Linked DNA regions of Homo sapiens: region 1 is linked to region 2. The links are contacts of gene promoters, found by promoter capture Hi-C in blood cells and fetal thymus (Javierre and others, 2016). All regions are on one chromosome and are shown on one strand. Each heading gives the region's core, a stretch centred on a gene start or on the middle of the fragment in contact. The rest is flanking DNA. Distances are from core to core; before and after follow the strand shown. Region 1 overlaps IL1RAPL1 (interleukin 1 receptor accessory protein like 1). Region 2 holds the start of TASL (TLR adaptor interacting with endolysosomal SLC15A4).

What was found. The method cuts DNA at HindIII sites, captures the fragments that hold promoters and counts their contacts. A CHiCAGO score of 5 or more calls a contact.
Region 1: a contact is called between a fragment that was not itself captured here and the fragment with the promoter of TASL in region 2, in 1 of 17 cell types (M1 macrophages). The highest score is 5.9, in M1 macrophages.

Annotation. Positions count from the first base shown.
Region 1 is chrX:29,482,831-29,485,809 of GRCh38, forward strand. All of the region lies in intron 5 of IL1RAPL1 (interleukin 1 receptor accessory protein like 1), which reads left to right. Among named protein-coding and RNA genes, the nearest start is that of MIR4666B, 90 kb to the right of the region's middle. The HindIII fragment of the contact is 3,746 bases long and covers 1-2,979 here.
Region 2 is chrX:30,576,181-30,579,072 of GRCh38, forward strand. TASL (TLR adaptor interacting with endolysosomal SLC15A4) reads right to left here and starts at 1,586. Exons shown (of 3, transcript NM_025159.3): 1 at 1,458-1,586; 2 at 572-686. RefSeq lists an enhancer at 1,608-1,817. The HindIII fragment of the contact is 8,514 bases long and covers 951-2,892 here.

The sequences.
Region 1 (2,979 bases), core at 236-2,735, 1.1 Mb before region 2:
TTGTAATATATTTTAAATACTCATTTTATTCCATCGATTCTGATAAGACTAAGATAATGGTCTTAAAGTGAAGAGCTTCCACATCTTAAGCAACAATATTAGGGTATTTGTGTTTACGTTAGAAAGACATGCCTTACTCTGTCCTCAAGATAATGGCTTTTATCTGATGCCAAAGTTAAAAAGATCAGTTCCTTTATTCAACTCCAGTGAACATCCTTCATTATATCTTGTTTCCTTCTGATATATCTGAGAAGAAAATGGAATAATTTAGAAGATGCCAGTGGGATAAAACACTATATTCCTAAATATAGTGCAGTTTTCAGAGCTATTTTAGCCACTGTAATTGAAATCCTCTTGTTCTCCACTGACATATTTTGGAAGCCCATATGTTTAGAGTCTGAAATTTCATTCCAAAAATGATAGAAAGCCTCTTGATCTCAGAATGGAGAGTTACTGAACTGAATTAAAATGGGCAAAGGCTTCAGTAAACTTGAGGAAGTAATGTATGGCCTTCCACGTGGATTAATTTCACTCTCTATCCTGGGAAGTATGGTACCCAGGTAGCCCGTGTGAAAAATATCATGTTGGTGATGTCCGTATGCTACCATATTAGAGACAAAGTCATACGTTCTGCGATGCTATTTTCTAGGCGGTTTGTTTCTTTGCATTACAGTAGTATATTCGGCACCACACAGAAGTTAAAATTATAAGAGGGAAGTAACCTTCCTTAGTGAGACTACAACTGTGAAGCTATAACTAATAGACACTAAGATAGAAATAAATTATTCTTATGATATATAACATAAGCATGAGCATGTAATATTGTTGGGAGCTCTAGCAGAAAGTACTACAGTAGTAGTAGTTTTTTTTTTTTTTAAGACAGGGCCCGGCTCTGTCACTCAGCAGGCTGGAGTGCAGTGGCACGATCTCAGCTCACTGCAACCTCTACCTCCTGGGCTCAAGCCATCCTTCCACCTCAGCCTCTTGAGTAGCTGGGACTACAGGCACACGCCACCATACGTGGCTGATTTTTGTATTTTTTAGTAAAGACTGTGTTTTGCCATGTTGCCCAGGCTGCTCTTGAACTCCTGGCCTCGAGCAATCCACCCGCTTTGGCTTCCCAAAGTGATAGTACTGCAGGCGTGAGCCACTGCACCTGGCCCAGTAGTCCATTAAAAAAAAAAAAAAAAAAAAACTCATTGAGCACCTACTTTGTAACAGGTACTGTTGTAGGTGCTAGGGATAAAATATACTTGTTTCTCCTACTGGATCTTGCTTTTCTTGGAGAAAGAAAGAAACACAATGTCTTAGTCCATTTTCTGTTACTATAACAAAATACCACAGACAGGGTAATTTATTTTCAAAAAAGTTTATTCAGCTCATAGTCTGGAGGATGGGAATTTTAACAGCATAGTGCTGGCATCTGGTGAGAGCCATCTTGCTATGTGATAATATGTCGAAGGGTATCACATGGTGACAGGGCAAGATCTTTCTTCTTCCTATAAAGCCACCAGTCCCATCATGGGGGCTCACCCTTTTGACTTTATCTAATCCTAATTACCTCCCAAAATCCCCGCCTCCAAATACGATCAACATATGAATTTGGGAATTAAGTTTCCAACACATAAAGTTTGGGGAACACATTCACACCATAGCACACAATAAACGAGCAAAAAATACTATATTAGATCATAATAAGTGACATGAAGACTGATGCAACAAAATAAAGGAGGTAGGAGGTACCAGAGGGGAAGAATGGTTATTGTTATTTCAGATACAGTGTTCCAGGAAGAAACTGGTATCTGAGTAGAGAGTTAAAGGAAGTGAGAAAGTGCATGTTGAAATCGGTGACAGAGGTAAAGACAGGTGCAAATGTCCTGAGGCAGGAACATATATCATGGGCATATTCTAGATAAGGCTTTGGCTTCCTTATGCTTCCTTTTTAGTGGGGAAGACAGAACGCAAAGCAAATGCAAAATAAATAATATGCAGTCAGGTTGAGATTAGTGTTATGGAATAAAAGAAGAGAGAGTAAACAATGGGGGAAGGAACAACATTAAGTAGGATAATCAGGAGACTTCTCTGGAGAGATGACCCTTACCCTCAGACCTAAATGATACACTACAAAATAAATGCCTGTACAATCACTAAAGGATTAACACAAACTGAAGGTAAAAACCATTGTGTAAGCGTTTTCCTGAATTCAAGAATTAGATTATTATTCTGAAGCTATTTTAATATTGGGAAAATCTTGTTAGCATTTTTTTCTGACAAAGTTCAAATAATGATTTCTGAAATTTAATTCTACCTAATACTAGGTGTACTTTAGAAAAATAACCAAAATGAGCTGCAGAAGTATTTTACTTTATTATAATAAATATTACAGTATGCATCATGAAATGAAAGAAAAATAATCCTTTGCCTATAGTTTTATTATCTCCAAATGAGTAGAAACTGAATGATGCATTTGGCAAAGCACATAAAACTTCACTTAAGAGATGTCTGTTAATACTTGCTGAGTGGAAAATAATAGCTAGCATTTGTTTGAACGCTTGATGTGTGCCAGGTGGGACACTAGGGATTTTACAAACACTAATCCATTTAAGACTCATACACCTCTGCAAGGTATGTAGTACTATTCTTCCTCCTAGGTAGCCTGAGTCAGTGTCAAAGAGGATTCTGTCTTGGGTCTATGTGATTTCAAGTACTGTGCTCCTTTAACCCCACTCTTAATTGTGAAAATCTTTATCACAGGACTCTGAAACTTCCTGTGATTCACTTTCTCCATGGTGTCCACAGTCCTTTCATGCTATATGTACCACAAATAGCATGAAAGGACTTCCTTTTAACCTAAAGCCTTTTTACAATTAACCCTTGCAATTTACGCTTTTTGATTTTTGTGGTTAGTGTCTGTTCTTGTCAAAATTGTGAATTAGAGCAAGTTTCTCCTTGATGTCATCACACTTCTTTGAAGTCATC
Region 2 (2,892 bases), core at 336-2,835:
AATGTGTATCACATCTTAGATAATAGTATTGTGTTGATGTTATGTTTCCGTGGTGTTGTAATGTGTTATAGAAGACTGCCTTTATTTTTAGGAGATACATGCTCAAGAATTTAGGGGTGACATGTGTCCTAAAGTCAGCAACATACTTTCAAACCATTCAGGGAAAAAACTGTGCATATGTGCATGCGTGTGTGTGAATATATATATACACATATAGAGAGAGAGAAAAGGACAGGCAGAGACAGAGAAAGACAAAGCGAGAGAGAAAGTAAATGTGGCAAAAAGATACCACTGATTAATACACATGATGAAAATATGGGTGTTCGTTGTACTATTCTTTCAATTTTTATATAGATTTGAAACATTTCTAAATAAAAATTGGGAGGGGGAAAAAACCATATTTAGTTAATGAAGGCATATTTACATTGTATAATGTTTATTAAGAGCCTAGAGGGACAATATCTTATATATCTAAAATAATCACTACATATGAGATGAGAAATGTCTCAGTGACTTGATATAAATACTTCAAACATCATTTTGCTCTGAGATAATAGAATTAGTGTACTACCTTTGAATATCTCCAAAATTCCACTTATGATATGGATGTTTGACACAGACTTCAAATACTCTTCAATCCTCCAGAAGCTTCTCAAGCTCAGAAACAATCTTCTTCTCACACTGACCTATGCAAGAAATGTTATAAAATATCAATATAAATATTCTGTCCAAACCAGGTCTATATTTAAGCACAGATTCATATGCGCAAGACAAAGAATGTTTGAGCGAGTCTAAAGATAATTCAAACAAAACTCCACTCGTACATGCGCTATCTTTAATACCAAAAGGGAAGCTTTCCCCAAATCACCCAGATGAAAGTCGAAAAGCATCCTCACTATAGATCGCATTCATTTTGAATACATCCTGCCACACAGAAAAACACTATCACAAGCTTGCTGAACTGAATAATTGAGAGTCAAATCCAATTGGAAAGGACTGTGATTGTTTTCGTCTCTAAAACTGCATCACCGTAACTGAATTCAAGAGCTGTGTTGTCCCTGCAAAACCCTGCTTAGGTTTTTAGGCCTTCTTTTAAAAATGCAGAAGCTAAACCAGTGTGGCAATTAGTGAAAGAGGACTGCAAAAATAACACAATAAATATTTGCTCAGATCAGTCAAAAATTGTAGGTAAAAATATAAGTGTTTTAGAAATGCTTAGAATGTGGACACGAGGAGGTAAGGAAAGGAAGTATTGGGCTTAATTTCTCTTTATTTTTCAACTCCACTGAATGCTTGTTTAAACTCCCACTTGTCTCTGATATGGTAAGCTAGAAAAGCATTTTAGATGTCATAAGAATGGATCAGCGCTCTCGTGATAAAGGGCTAAGAAAGCGTGAGAAGACAGATGACAAAAAATAATAGCGGAGTTCTAGGGTCCTTTGCTTTCTTTTTCTTACCTTCACTAACCAATCTGCTCATCTGATCCGGCAGAAACACAGCAACTGACCAAACAGAGAGATGAACAAGCCAGCCAATGCTCTTTCCAGAAATTTTCACAAGCCTTTCACTGATGAGACCAGTAGACTGAGCTGCTCAGTGCAAAGCCATTCTTTTTATAATTGGTCCCATGGAAAAAGAGTTGTTTTTGTTCAAGTCCGATTTGTGCTAAAGAGGCAGTGGGAAGTCCCGGGAGGTGGGGAGGCAGTAACTGACAAAGCCACATCAAGCCACAGAATGGTGTTTCTTCCCCTTTTTCGAAAAATGAAACCTATCTACGAAACTGTCTCTTATTAAAATAGTTTATGGTTACACATTTTGTAAGAACCCTAGCAACAGAATTAAATTTCCTTTCTAGAAAAGTACATTATCTGGGATCCTTCACCCAAAAGAAAGCCAAAGTCACATATGACTTTAGGAAATTCTGTTTCGTTACTAATCTATAATTTTTAAGAAGTATTATTTCTCAATGGTACTTATAATTTTTAAAAATGTAAATGAAAAAAATTTTCTCGGCCGGGCGCAGTGGCTCACGCCTGTAATCCCAGCACTTTGGGAGGCCGAGGCAGGTGGATCAGGAGGTCAGGAAATCGAGACCATCCTGGCAAACACGGCGAAACCTCGTCTCTCCTAAAAATACAAAAAATTAGCCGGGCGCGGTGGCGGGCGCCTGTGGTCCCAGCTACTCGGGAGGCTGAGGCAGGAGAATGGCGTGAACCCGGGAAGTGGAGCTTGCAGTGAGCCGAGATCGCGCCACTGCACTCCAGCCTGGGCGACAGGGCGAGACTCCGTCTCAAAAGAAAAAAAAAAGAAAAAAGTTTTCCCTCTCCAAATACCGAAGGTCAAAACAATAATACATGGTGTGGGCAAAGTTGTGAAGAAACAAGCACTCTCAAACACTACTGATGAGATTGTAAACATATTTAGAGGGCAATTTCCCAGTATCTCTCAAATACAAATATTCATACCCTTTGACCCAACAATTGTATTTTTTATAAATTTGTCCAAGCTATATGTTTACACTTGTACACAAAGACTTATGTGAAAAGATATTTGTTGCAGCATTGCTTGAGAAAATAAATGACTAGAAAAAATTATATCCATAAATAAGATATTGGCCAAGTAAATGAGAACGTATGCATACTTAAAATCCTATGTAGGTTGTGTGCGGTGGCTCACGCCTGTAATCCTAGCACTTTGGGAGGCCGAGGCAGGTGGATCACTTGAGGTCAGAAGTTTGAGACCAGCCTGGCCAACATGGTGAAACCTTGTCTCTACTAAAAATACAAAACTTAGCCACGCGTGGTGGTGGGCACCTGTAATCCCAGCTACTCGGAGGCTGAGGCATGAGAATCCCTTGAACCCGAGAGGTGGAGGTCACAGTGAGCTGAGATT